Linked DNA regions of Homo sapiens: regions 2, 3, 4 and 5 are each linked to region 1. The links are contacts of gene promoters, found by promoter capture Hi-C in blood cells and fetal thymus (Javierre and others, 2016). All regions are on one chromosome and are shown on one strand. The core of a region is centred on a gene start or on the middle of the fragment in contact, and the rest is flanking DNA. Distances in the headings are between cores, read along the strand shown.

Region 1 (2,578 bases), core at 36-2,535:
GTGGACGCCAGACTGAGCTGGGCTGAGGAGTAAAAATGAAGCGCAAATATGGAGCAGACAGCTTAACACAGGTCTAGACAGGGCTGTCAAACATGGAAGAAACACTAATCGCTAACAGGATAGAGCATGGCAATAGCTTGAAATTGGTTTGAAAATCCAAGATAAAAAATTCCTCTGACATCGTGATCCAGACCTCTCAAACACACAAGCATGCTCGCAATAACTGCAATAAAAGCAATAATGCTTTCTAGTCTATTCCACTACGTTAGAGAAACGGCTGGTCACCACCCACTCAATCATTCACGGCTCGCTGACGGGTAGAAACCTGCAATGACAGGTCCACGCTAATCCAACAAGGGATGATTTGGGGAGGCAGAGATGGAGTTTGAAAAGAAGCAGGGAGCCCGAGGACCTGCGCGGCCAGAGCGCCAGATAGCCATAGGCGTGGAGACGGTGGGGCGCCCACAGCCCCGGGCCCGGAGCCCCCGCCCCGCAGCCCCACCCGCCGGCCCACCCCGCGTCACTCCCCCGCCGCCCTTACCTCCTCCAGATACTCGCCCAGCTGGGCCGCCACGTCCACCTCCCAGTTCTTGGTGAGGTCGCGGATGGGCTGCAAGAGGTGGGCGAAGCGCGCCTCCACGTCCTCCATGTCCGGGAGGGAACGGGCGGCAAAGGGACCGCAGGGCTGCCTTCCGAGGGGTACGGCGTCCTCAGCCCGCCACTAGTTCTGGCGCCATTTTGCTGTTCCCGCCCAGGAAAATGCGTAGGCGCGGCGTCGCGCGCATGTCTATGACGTAACGTGGGCAAAAGCCAGAGAGGCGAACCCCGGCGCCGCGCAGCGGGAGCTCACCGGAAGAGTCGCGGGGCGGGGTCGAAGCCTCCGGGAGGGGGGGGTGGGCGGAGCTTTGGGCTGCCACCAGTTTGGACGGGAGGGCTTTTGGGGCCGCCGTGGGTCGGGCGGGGCGGGGTGGGGCGGGGCCTGGAGCTGCCGCGGGCGAGCGGGCCGAGGAGGCGGGGCTTGGGGGCTGCCACGGGTTGGGGGGGCGGGGCGGTGAGGAGGCGGGGCCTGGGGCAGCCGCGGGCGGGCGGACGGGCCGAGGAGGCGGGGCTTGGGGCTGCCACGGGTTGGGCGGGCGGGGCGGTGAGGAGGCGGGGCCTGGGACTGCCGCGGGCGGGCGGGCGGGCCGAGGAGGCGGGGCTTGGGGCTGCCACGGATTGGGCGGGCGGGGCGGTGAGGAGGCGGGGCCTGGGGCTGCCGCGGGCGGGCGGACGCGGAGGGCGGGCCCTGCTCTAGCGGGCCGCGTAGCGGACATGGCGGGCTCCCGGCTCCCGCGGCAGCTCTTCCTCCAGGGCGTGGCGGCCGTCTTCATGTTTGCTTTCGCTTCCCTCTACACGCAAATCCCAGGTGAAGGCACCCAGGGTGGGACACCCCCAGCCTCGGCGCGGGACCCTATGTCCTCTTTTCTCTGTGCCCGGCACTCACGCAGTCCGGGGTTGGGAGTGAGGGCCAGGCCTTGGCGTGGGGTAGGGGGCGGCGGTTCGTGTCCTGCAGGCCGCTGTGGGGGTAGGAAGGTGTGCGGTGATCCATTTCCCGTAAGGCTCTGGACTCTGACCTGGGGTGGGGGACAGAACTCTGAGAGAGGTGGGAGAGAGGCTTCCTCCCAGACCTGGTGGGACAGGTAGGAGATCGGGCTGAGACCTGGAAGAGGGCAGTGGGCTCTGCTGGGTGGGAGGCCCTGACTCAGGTAGTTGAGCAGGCCTCTAGCCCTGGGACGGGGTTTTGACAGGTCCCGACCTGGGGGACGGGCTCTGGAGGGACTGCAGACTCTGACCTAGGGATGGAGGTATCCGCATGCTCTGACCTAGGCTGGGGGATCTGCAGGCCCTGACTCAGAGGTAGTCTAGTCTGCAAGGGCTGTCCAGGGCCTGGCCATGACATGCCCTCCCACAGGCCTGTATGGCCCCGAGGGCATCCTACCTGCAAGGAGGACGCTGCGGCCTCAGGGCAAGGGGCGCTGGCAGCAGCTGTGGGAGACCCCGACGCTGCTGTGGGAAGCGCCGAGACTGGGGCTGGACACGGCCCAGGGCCTGGAGCTGCTGAGCCTGCTGGGTGCACTAGTGGCCCTGGGAGCCCTGCTGCTGAGCCCACTGCGCCACCCTGTCATCTACTTGCTGCTTTGGGCCGCCTACCTGTCAGCCTGCCAGGCAAGTGGGACCTGTGACCAGCTCACTCTATCTCCAACCCCCACCACCCACCCCTGCCTCTACCTTACCTGAGTCCACAGACACACCCGCTCCCTGACAGCCCCTCTCTCCGCAGGTGGGCCAGGTGTTCCTTTATTTCCAGTGGTGAGTGACGGCTGGGCCTGGGGCTGTGGGAGGCTGGGTAGGGGGTGGGGGAGGGCTCTGCCCTTCCTGGGAGGACTTTCCGAGGGAAGCAGCTGTGTGGGGAGGGGCTCTTGGTGCTATTTGCTCTCCCCATAGGGACTCCCTGCTGCTAGAGACTGGCTTCCTGGCCGTGCTGGTGGCCCCGCTGAGGCCAGCCTCCCACCGCAAGGAGGCCCCCCAGGGCAGGCAG
Region 2 (2,578 bases), core at 32-2,531, 190 kb before region 1:
CCATAAGGGGATCACTGCCCACCTAACTGCTGCTTAGCCCGGGCCCTCGGCTGTCAACTTCCTGAGACCCACCACCTCTGACGCACCAGGCACCCAATAAATGTTTGCGAGGAAGGAAAAAACAGAATTCTGCCATCCCCACAGAGCAGGTGAGCTGGAGCCCCTCACACAGCAGGTCTTAGTTTTGTGTCTGCTGAAAGGATGAATGAACACGTACAAAAAATGAATGCAGGGAGGAGCCTGTGGCAACGCGTGCCTCCAACTCAGGAGCAGCCTTTCTGCGGGATGGAAACATCCGGAATGCAGAATGTGTTCTTTCAGCCACTGGGCCGCCCAGCCCTTAGAAAATCCGCGGGTCTATAAGAAAGCTTCAGGGGAGAATTGAGATTTGGGGCAGTACAGCCAGCCTTGCGAGTCCAACAAGCCCAGGCAAAGACAGACACGGAGACATCGCTGAGACCAGGCTGCAGAGCAGGGGCGGCAGCACAGGAAGGGGCGCCTTCCATAGGCCCTGCTGCACCCTGAGCCCTCTGCTGAACACTCAGGCTTAGAAAGTTGGGGATTGGGTCTACCTGGGGCCCAGTGAAGCTGATCCGTAGCTCTGTGACTCTGGACCCGTCACAGGCCCCACCTGCGTACCAGGACGCTCATCTGTAACATGGTATTAATAGAGCATGAACATGTACGTTCGTCAAGGTTAAAGGAGCTAGTATACACATGCCATTCAGCCCAACAGCGGGCCTGGACTGACAGAACTGTAAAGGCCGGCGGCCATCCTGACAACAACATACTGTTTATGTAACTCTTCCACTCAACAATGTCTGCCAAACACCCTCCTCAGTGCCTGGCTCTGATGAAACTAGGAAACGACAAAGACGGTGCCTGCCTTCAAGGCACAGGGAGGGCAGGTGCTTTTACCGGCAGTTGCCAGACTCTGCCAGGTGATCCCTCACCTGCCCAGGGCATTCTGGAAGGCTTCCCAAAGACAATGACTTAGGTAGGACTATTCCCACTTACTGATGAGAAGCCCAGGCACAAAGTGGCTGAGAGCCAGTGCGCCCACCTCAGCACCCAATGCACAGCCCAGAGAGGCCAGTGGGCTCCGGTCCAGGCATCCCTGCCTCAGGGACCCAGGCCTCAGGGTGAGGGTAAAGAATAGAAGCCACAGAGTCCTGTAGGTGTGCCAGGGCTGGGGGAAACCATGAGTATACCCTGGGGACAGGGCTGGGGCTTACCTGTAGGTTTTGGGCCCTACTGGAGTGGCAACTCCATCCCTGTCCCCCTTACCACAGGCCACCAGCCCTGACTCTTCCCAGCCATGCCTGACAATGCAGTGTGTTTTCTAAATCACAGGTAGGAGCATACCCTCTCCACCTAACACGCTCCCTCAACTGCCCACTGTCCTCATGGCAAGCCCAGCTCCAACCGGAAATCAGCGTGCATGTGCCTGTCCCCACCTCCAGAGATGCCTTCTTCCCTTCCCCAACCAGGAAGCCCTAGCCCATCACTACACAGGTGCTAGGCACCACCAGGCCTCTCTCTGCCTCCCGGTGCTGGCTCCTCCTGGCTCAGGTCCCGGCACCCCACCCTCCCAACCCCTCCAGGGCCTGCCAGCCCCCTCCTACCTGATCTTGCTTTGGCCGGCCCTGCCTGCTAAAGGGCCACTGATGTTGCTCTCCTGGTCGGCATCCCGGTCACGATCTTTCTCCTCTTGCAGCCGCTGGAGCAGCAGCTGGTGGGGGAGGCTTCTCAGCGAGGGTCCAGGAGAAGCTGCTGGCTGTGCCTCCCCCTTCAGGTTGATATCGCTGGCTGAGCGCTGCAGAGGCCGAGGGGATGCCAAGCCACTGGGGCCAGCCAGTCGCCGCCGCTTCGCATAGCTGGGGGTTTCCCTGAATGGTACTGGGGTAAGGGGGCATAGGTAAGACTCTGAACAGCCAGCTGGGTGACCAACTTGTCCAGTTTGCCCAGGCTTTCCAGATGTTAAAACTAAATCCTATGTTCCAGGAACTGCCTTGGTTCCAGGCAAACCAAAAGAGTTGGCCACCCTACAAATGAAGCTACCATTAAGGGGCCACATCCCAGTCAAACTGCCTCTCACCCTAGCTTCAGAGGTAGAAGCCTGCTTCTCCTCTCAGCCGAAAGGGGCCTTGAGGGTGCTCAGATATGCTCTAAGAACTGCATTTCACAAGCTTCAGGAGAGACAAAACAGGCTACATGTGACGAATCTCACCAGACTACTGCTGAACAGGACCATTTGCAGTTAACTATAACCAGGGAAACTATAAAAGACATTCTAGACCAGGGATCAGCAAACCTTTTCTGGAAAGAATTGGACAGTAACTACTTAAGGCTTTGCAAGCTATATAGTCTGTGTTGCAATGACTCAACTCTGCCACCGCAGCATGAAAACCACCACAAACAACATACAAGCAGATAGGTGTGTTTGTGTTCCAATAGAATTTTACTTAAAAAGCAGATAGTGATTAAAAAGTATTATCCAACTATATGCTACTTACAAAATAATCACTTTAAATCCAAAGACACAAATAGGTTCAAAGTGAAAGGATAAAAAAAGCAA
Region 3 (2,578 bases), core at 43-2,542, 180 kb after region 1:
GAGCCAAGACCATGCCATTGCACTCCTGCCTGGGCAACAAGAGCAACATTCTGTCTCAAAAAAAACAACAGAAACAAACAAACAAAAAACAATACGGCCATGTGCTACTCAACGGTGAAGCTATGTCCTGAGAAATGTGTCATTAGGCGATTTTGTTATGTGACAAACCTAGATGGGACAGCCTACCCCACACCTAGGCCAGATGATCCGAACAACACGTGGTAATCTTTTATTTTTTTATTTTTGAGATGGAGTCTCACTCTGTCGCCCAGGCTGGAGTGCAATGGCGACATCTCAGCTCACTGCAAGCTTCGCCTCCGGGGTTCAAACGATTCTCCTGCCTCAGCCTCCCCAATAGCTGGGGTTACGGCGCTCGCCAGCCACCACGCCCGGCTAATTTTTGTATTTTCAGTAGAGACAGGGTTTCACCAGGTTGGTCTCGATTTCCTGGATTCGTGATCCGCCACCCCACCTCGGCCTCCCAAAGCGGTGAGATTACAGGCGTGAGCCACCGCGTCTGGCCAACACGTGGTAATCTGAAGGGACCACCACAGTATATGCGGCCCGCCTTCCACGGAAACGTCATGAGGCCCACGACTCAAAGGCGTGCCTCATTAAGTTACCGACAGCCCCAAACTCGCCCTTCCACGCCGGGCCTCAAGGTGCTCTGTGGACCACAGCGGGGCCCGGGGCCCTCGCGAGGGAGGGAAGAGTTCGCTCCAGGTCCCCGCGATTCCCCCGGAAAGTGAAACTGCAGAGGTGTTGCGTGGACACCCGCGGTCAGACACGACCCCAGGCCGCGCGGGCCCCAGAGGAAGCGAGCGCGAGTCCGCGGTGGTGGCTGGGCGCTCAGTGAGGACGCCATTCCGCCACGAAAACGCCCGCGACGCCGCTGGCCCCTGCGCGGTGGGGCGAGGTAGGCTGGCCGGACCTGCGAAGCCCGACGAGCCCGGCGCCGGCTGGCTGCAGCTTGCTCTGCCTCCCTGGCCTGGCCCCGAGGCTCCCGCGAGCCGGGATCCGCGAACACCGGGGCCGAACCGACTCTCTCGGGCCTCAGACGGCGTGGACCCTGGAAGGCCCCAGTTCGGCCGCTTCCCCGGAAGTCCCCCAGTGGGCTCCGGCCGCTCTGGCCCGCGCGCGTCCGGCTCGCTGGTGCCCTGGGCGGCGCCCGGCCGCTGGCGCTTCTCGGGCGCTAGGGGGCGCGCGGCCGCGCGGGAGCCGCACTGGGCCGCGGCGGCCGCTCGACTGTTCTGAGGAGCGGCCCGGACGCGCGCCGCCCCCGCCCGCGTTTCCCCGGCAACCCGCGGCCGCCGCCATGGACGCGCTGTTGGGCACAGGGCCTCGCCGGGCTCGCGGCTGCCTGGGCGCGGCTGGACCCACGTCTTCAGGTCGCGCGGCGCGGACCCCGGCGGCGCCCTGGGCGCGCTTCTCCGCCTGGCTGGAGTGTGTGTGCGTGGTCACCTTCGACCTGGAGCTGGGCCAGGCGCTGGAGGTGAGCGGGCGCGAGCGCGGGCGCGGGCGGGTGGGCAGGGCTGCGCCTCTCGGGGCCAGTCCCGCCTCGCTTGGGGCCCTCGGCCGCCCCGCACTCTCCCTGGCCTTCGGCCGCCGCCTCCTGGAGGGGCCTCTTCTCCGGGCTCCAGAAGCGCTCCCCAGGCCGAGGAGGGAAGGCGAGCTGCTCGGAGTCGGATCTTGTCTTCACATTGGGATGGAGCATTTTGCATAACCTAAGTGGTACTCTTTCGATTTTTCCCAGTAAATGTCTCACATCTCCCCCCTCCATTCCCCACCGGAGCAGTGACACCTTCATCCCCTCAGTGGCTCCCGCCAGAGTCCCGGGCTTACCCTCCGCTCCGCATCCCATCTCTGGGCATAGGCGAGGCTGACGGCTCCTTCTGCAACAAAGGTCTCGGATCCGTTCCTTTGCTGCCATCACTGATGTCATCCCCACCCCAGCTGCACCCCAGAGTTCAACCTTTGTGGCTCTCCTGCTTAAAACCCTGCAGCGCCTCCTTGTTCACCTAGCATCAGATCCAGACCCCATGGGCCCCGTCCCTCCACCTGCGTCTTGTGGTGTTCTTGCTCGTGGGGGTCTGTTCATCGGCTGTGCCCATGGGCTTTCGATGTGGTCTTTCTGCTGCCTGCAGGCCTCCACTCACCTACCCACACAGGCAGCCTCCTTTCCTCCAGGGAGGCCCCGCAGGATGATCTTCTCTGTGTCCTGTGTAACACACACCAGGGAGCTGACCAGCACAGGGGAGGCCCACCTGCAGATGGAGGGAGGCTTCCCCGCGCTGGCGCAAGGAACCTCGTGAGGGGTAGTGAGCTCTCTATTACCGCAGGTGTCCAAGATCAGGCCAAATCATCATCATCAGGAAAGCCAGGCAGCGCGTCTCTGTGGTTGGGAGATGCTTTCTAAGGCCCTGCTGAACTCCAAGAGGCCATGAGAAGCATATAGTCTTCTAAACAGAAAAGCATTAACTCTAGCACTCTCTGGAGCCCCTCCCACCACACACGGTCCCCAGCAGGTGCACAGCCTCAAACAGCATCACTGGGTGGGGGCTGAGTACCAAGAAGTGTG
Region 4 (2,578 bases), core at 59-2,558, 160 kb after region 1:
CTGGGGGGGCACTGACTGGGGGGAACTGACTGGAGGGGGCACTGACTGGGGGAAACTGACTGGAGGAGGCACTGACTGGGGGGAATTGACTGGAGGGGGCACTGACTGGGGGGAATTGACTGGAGGGGGCACTGACTGGGGGGCACTGACTGGGGGGAAACTGACTGGGGGGGCACTGACTGGGGGGGAACTGACTGGAGGGGGCACTGACTGGGGGAACTGACTGAAGGGGGCACTGACTGGGGGGGGAACTGACTGGAGGGGGCACTGACTGGGGGGAATTGACTGGAGGGGGCACTGACTGGGGGGCACTGACTGGGGGGCACTGACTGGGGGGAAACTGACTGGGGGGGCACTGACTGGGGGGAACTGACTGGAGGGGGCACTGACTGGGGGAAACTGACTGGAGGAGGCACTGACTGGGGGAAACTGACTGGAGGAGGCACTGACTGGGGGAAACTGACTGGAGGAGGCACTGACTGGGGGGAAACTGACTAGAGGGGGCACTGACTGGGGGGGAACTGACTAGAGGGGGCACTGACTGGGGGGGAACTGACTAGAGGGGGCACTGACTGGGGGGGGAACTGACTGGAGGGGGCACTGACTGGGGGAAACTGACTGGAGGAGGCACTGACTGGGGGAAACTGACTGGAGGAGGCACTGACTGGGGGGGAACTGACTGGAGGGGGCACTGACTGGGGGGAAACTGACTGGAGGGGGCACTGACTGGGGGGGAACTGACTGGAGGGGGCACTGACTGGGGGGCACTGACTGGGGGGAAACTGACTGGGGGGAAACTGACTGGGGGGGAACTGACTGGGGGGGAACTGACTGGAGGGGGCACTGACTGGGGGAACTGACTAGAGGGTGCACTAACTGGGGGGGAACTGACTGGAGGGGGCACTGACTGACTTGGGGGGGGCACTGACTCCGGGGGCACCGACTGGGGGGAACTGACTGGAGGGGGAACTGACTGACTGGGGGATAACTATCTGGAGGGGGCACTGACTGACTCGGGGAGAAGTGACTTGGGGGGCACTGGCAGACTGGGGGCCGGGTCTGAGCGGCGGGCGGCCGCACTCACCTGCCCTGCGGGCCGGGCGTCGCGGCAGCTCTTCGGAGGCCCGTGTGGAGGCCCGAGCGGAGGCCAGGGCGCTGGTGGAGGCAAAGCCCGGGCGGCCTCGGGCGGGCCGCACACACATGGGCCCGGCCGAGGGCGCAGCGCCTACGGACACCGGCACGGCCGGCCGGCGGCTCGAGACCGACTCGGGGCCGCGGGCGGCACTCCGATCGCTCCAAAATGGCGGCGGCGGCGCACGGGCACGCGCTCCGGGGGCGGGGTCTCCGCTTGGGGCGCGCACGCTCGCGGCCGGGGGCGGGGCCGCGCGGGTGGGCGGGGCCGGGACCTGGGCCGGCTCTCCGGGCCCCCTGGAGTGGGGCACTCGGTGAAACCCGCGTGGGAGCACGAGGGCTTGGGTGTGCTGACTGCTGCCTTGGAGTGGGTGGGGTAAGAGTGCGTCTTTCCCCTTTTACGTTTCCCTTTGAGGTATTGGCTAAAGTTTTGTGCAAGCATAGTTAATTTTGTTGTAGCCACAAAACAATCCTCGCGTGGCCCGACGCAGCATTTGAGAGACACACACCTGGGGCAGGGGTTTCCCCCGTGGCCCAGGAAAGGGCCTGTTCTCCCGGGCCTCCCTCCTGCCACAGGCCCCTCCCAGAGGCCGCGGGGCGTGGACGCCCCGAGCAGCAGGAGCGGGCTCAGCCCCGGGCGCCAGGCCTGGCCCCTCCCCGTCCCGCGTCCTGCCTGGACCCGGAGTGCCTGAGCCGCCTCCAGACAGTTTTCTCCAGGTGCGCTACGGGTTCTTGCACGGCGTTTTGCAAATTAAGTATGTGCCTATTTAACAAGTGCTGGAATTGTTTAATTCCATCAAAATAATTTCAAAAATGATTACTATTATTTCAGATGTTAGAGCGAGCCGTGGGTAAATGTTGGGAAAACATGGAGCACTTAAGGGATCTCTAAACGTTTTTTCCAGTTGTCAGTGTATTGCCCAGGATTCACCGATGCTCTCTGCGAAAGCGTATCTGGGCGGCTCAAATATTCGGTATTTCTCTTTTGCCAGCTGGCGCTGTTAGGCTTTGTCGGTAGAGGGCGCCAGAGACGTTGCAGGAGAAAAGGGCTTGGCCCTGCGGCTGGCGGCCCCGGGCTTCCCCGACGCCTGTCCCCTGCCCTGGTCAGCAGCACCCTCCTCGCCGGTTTTATAGCAGATGCCTCTGGCGAGCCTTTCCCCAGCAAAAGCTTTTCCCCTAGCATCCTAAGGGGCAGATTTCTGGCAGGTTCCGTTGAGGGAACTTCCAGGAAGTGGGGGTGAAAAAGCCTCAGCCTCACAACCTAGAGAAGAGACACCCTGCGTTCAGCAGGCTATGCCCTTCTCCTGCCCTCACCATGGTCTCCTTTGCAGGAGCGGGAGGTGCTGCTGAGTTGAGCTACGGAATGGGGACTGGGGCCAGGGGCACCAGATGCAGGAGATGCTCCTGCTGCCGTGAGCACGTGCAACTCTGCCTGATCTTGATACCC
Region 5 (2,578 bases), core at 33-2,532, 140 kb after region 1:
AATCCCAGCACTTTGGGAGGCCGAGGCCGGTGGATCACCTGAGGTCAGGAGTTCGAGACCAGCCTGGCCAACACGGTGAAACTCCATCTCTACTAAAAATACAAAAATTAGCTGGGCATGGTGGCGGGCACCTGTAATCCCAGCTACTGGGGAGGCTGAGGAAGGAGAACTGCTTGAACCCGGAGGCTGCAGTGAGCTGGGATTGCACCACTGCACTCCAGCCTAGGTGACAGAGCGAGACTCCATTTAAAAAAAAAAAAAAAAAAGATGAGAGGGAACAATCCTCAAAGCTCACGCAGAGCCTATTCCTGCCAGTTGCAGTGGAAAACCTTGTAATTCACAAGGCTTTGGACGTAATGCTCAGAAGACGTTTGCCTCAGTGGCAGAGCAAAACTAGCCCTAGACTAAAAATTACTAGGGTTCCACCTAACAAAGCTGAAATGCAAGACCTATCAGAATCAAACTGTTTCCAAGTAATTGAACCTCATCCCAGAACAAAGGTCAAGAATATTTATAGGAACACAAAAATGCTCAGTATCCAACAAGATAAAATTCACAAAGTCTGGGCATCTGATCAAAAAGTTCTAGGCATGCAAGGGAGCAGGAAAAGAAAAATCATAAACCATAATGAGGGGAAAAACAACACAAAACCAACCCAGAAATGACACAGATGAGTTAACAGATAATGCTGGTACAGGGGCTCATGTCTATAATCCCAGCTACTCAGGAGCAAGGTGGGAGAATCACTTGAGGCCTGGAGTTTGAGGTTGCAGTGAGCCAGGATTGCACCACTGCAATCCAGCCTGAGTGACAGAGCAAACAGAACACTGTCTCTAAAAAAATAATAATAAATAAAGAATTGATAAGGACATTTAAATGGTTCTTTTTTTTTTTTTTTTGAGACAGAGTCTTGCTCTGTCGCACAGGCTGGAATGCAGTGGTGTGATCTCAGCTCACTGCAAGCTCCGCCTCCCGGGTTCATGCCATTCTCCTGCCTCAGCCTCCCGAGTAGCTGGGACTACAGGCGCCCGCCACCACGCCGGGCTAATTTTTTGTATTTTTTAGTAGAGACGAGGTTTCACCGTGTTAGCCAGGATGGTCTCGATCTCCTGACCTCATGATCCACCCACCTCGGCCTCCGAAAGTGCTGGGATTACAGGCGTGAGCCACTATGCCCAGCCTAAATAGTTCTTATAAGTGTATCTCATGCCAGGCACGGCGGCTCATACCTGTAATCCCAGCACTTTGGGAGGCCGAGGCAGATGCATCGCCTGAGGTCGGGAGTTCAAGACCAGCCTGGCCAACATGAAGAAACCCCGTCTCTACTAAAAATATAAAATTAGCCAGGTGTGGTGGTGCATGCCTGTAATCCCAGCTACTTGGGACGCTGAGGCAGGAGAATTGCTTGAACCCGGGAGGTGGAGGTTGCGGTGAGCCGAGATTGCGCCATTACAATCCAGCCTGGGCAACAAGAGCAAAACTCCGTCTCAAAAAAAAAAAAAAAAAAAGTATCTCATATGTTCAAGAACCTAAAGGAAAGATTAAGTAAAGACATGGAAGATATACAAAGACCCAAAGAGAATCATAAAAGATTTTTTTTCTTTTTATGCCCACCTTCTAATACCATCACACATAAAAACATTCTTAATCCAAAATAAGGTAGAAAAAGACAAACAGGGAATAAAGAATACACCGTACTTCTGCTGTAAGCCTCTACACGATGACACATTAAGTGGGACCCGCACACAATACAACTTTGGCACTCTTTCCTCATCCCCACCTGATTCCATAACCGTACCAAAACTATCTAAATATGCTGAGTGTCTCCCCCAGCTAACACCTTTGCACACACAGACCCTCTGACTGGAATGCCTTCTTCCCACTTTCTCTATTTGACAAACTCTTGCCTGATCTTCCTATCTGAAGACCATCTATAGCTACCTTTGTCAACTTTCTGAGTCCCTCCTCAGTGCTCTCACAAGACTGTTTATATCTTTCAGAGAATTATAACTCAGTTTTAAATATTTTTATTTTTAATTATGAAATTTTTTAAATATATTGAAGTCTAGAGAAGGACATAATATCCATGTGATGAGACTTAACAAACACTAACATTTGTTTGTATGTGCCTCCTTCTTAAACAAATGTTTCTACGACACTGAGGAACCCAGGAACTCAAGCAATCCCCTTCTTGAGAGACAATCACTAACTTGCAGTATCCGTAATTTCATTATTTTATGACTTATATACCTAAAAATGGTACATTGCTTTAAATACATATTTCAAGTATGACACTTCTCTCATATACCAAGTTCCCATTTATACAGGGTCCTTTTCCAGGCTATCCATTCCACTGGCCTCACAATAAGTCTGAAAACCTGGGCCAGGCACGGTGACTCAAGCCTGTAATCCCAGCACTTTGGGAGGCCGAGGTGGGCAGATCACCTGAGGTCAGGAGTTTGAGACCAGCCTGGTTAACATGGTGCAACCCCGTCTCTACTAAAAATACAAAAAAACTAGCCAGACGTGGTGGTGCATGCCTGTAATCCCAGCTACTCGGGAGGCTTAGGCAGGAGAA

What was found. The method cuts DNA at HindIII sites, captures the fragments that hold promoters and counts their contacts. A CHiCAGO score of 5 or more calls a contact.
Region 2: a contact is called between a fragment that was not itself captured here and the fragment with the promoter of LMF2 in region 1, in 2 of 17 cell types (M0 macrophages and M1 macrophages). The highest score is 7.7, in M0 macrophages.
Region 3: a contact is called between the fragment with the promoter of DENND6B here and the fragment with the promoter of LMF2 in region 1, in 4 of 17 cell types (monocytes, M0 macrophages, M1 macrophages and 1 more). The highest score is 7.6, in monocytes.
Region 4: a contact is called between the fragment with the promoter of PPP6R2 here and the fragment with the promoter of LMF2 in region 1, in 12 of 17 cell types (naive CD8 T cells, total CD8 T cells, fetal thymus and 9 more). The highest score is 8.1, in naive CD8 T cells.
Region 5: a fragment that was not itself captured here is called in contact with the fragment with the promoter of LMF2 in region 1 in 4 of 17 cell types (M1 macrophages, M0 macrophages, naive CD8 T cells and 1 more); the score reaches 6.2 in M1 macrophages.

What each region holds. Positions count from the first base shown.
Region 1 is chr22:50,506,409-50,508,986 of GRCh38, reverse strand. LMF2 (lipase maturation factor 2) reads left to right here and starts at 1,285. Exons shown (of 14, transcript NM_033200.3): 1 at 1,285-1,405; 2 at 1,952-2,205; 3 at 2,321-2,349; 4 at 2,485-2,578. The coding sequence starts at 1,312. It overlaps NCAPH2 (non-SMC condensin II complex subunit H2), which reads right to left and starts at 763. Exons shown (of 20, transcript NM_152299.4): 1 at 542-763. The coding sequence starts at 649. RefSeq lists silencers at 225-514, 1,185-1,284 and an enhancer at 1,505-1,554. The HindIII fragment of the contact is 8,515 bases long and covers 1-2,578 here.
Region 2 is chr22:50,694,096-50,696,673 of GRCh38, reverse strand. SHANK3 (SH3 and multiple ankyrin repeat domains 3) reads right to left here. Exons shown (of 25, transcript NM_001372044.2): 12 at 1,628-1,899. Among named protein-coding and RNA genes, the nearest start is that of SHANK3, 23 kb to the right of the region's middle. RefSeq lists an enhancer at 1,121-1,621. The HindIII fragment of the contact is 1,821 bases long and covers 371-2,191 here.
Region 3 is chr22:50,325,726-50,328,303 of GRCh38, reverse strand. DENND6B (DENN domain containing 6B) reads left to right here and starts at 1,292. Exons shown (of 20, transcript NM_001001794.4): 1 at 1,292-1,492. The coding sequence starts at 1,316. RefSeq lists a silencer at 904-1,543. The HindIII fragment of the contact is 18,876 bases long and covers 312-2,578 here.
Region 4 is chr22:50,342,057-50,344,634 of GRCh38, reverse strand. It overlaps PPP6R2 (protein phosphatase 6 regulatory subunit 2), which reads right to left and starts at 1,308. Exons shown (of 24, transcript NM_001242898.2): 1 at 1,085-1,308. RefSeq lists silencers at 1,048-1,127, 1,138-1,417, 1,688-1,857 and an enhancer at 1,954-2,578. The HindIII fragment of the contact is 9,108 bases long and covers 1-2,301 here.
Region 5 is chr22:50,364,000-50,366,577 of GRCh38, reverse strand. The region is part of intron 1 of PPP6R2 (protein phosphatase 6 regulatory subunit 2); the gene reads right to left. Among named protein-coding and RNA genes, the nearest start is that of PPP6R2, 22 kb to the right of the region's middle. The HindIII fragment of the contact is 3,569 bases long and covers 1-2,578 here.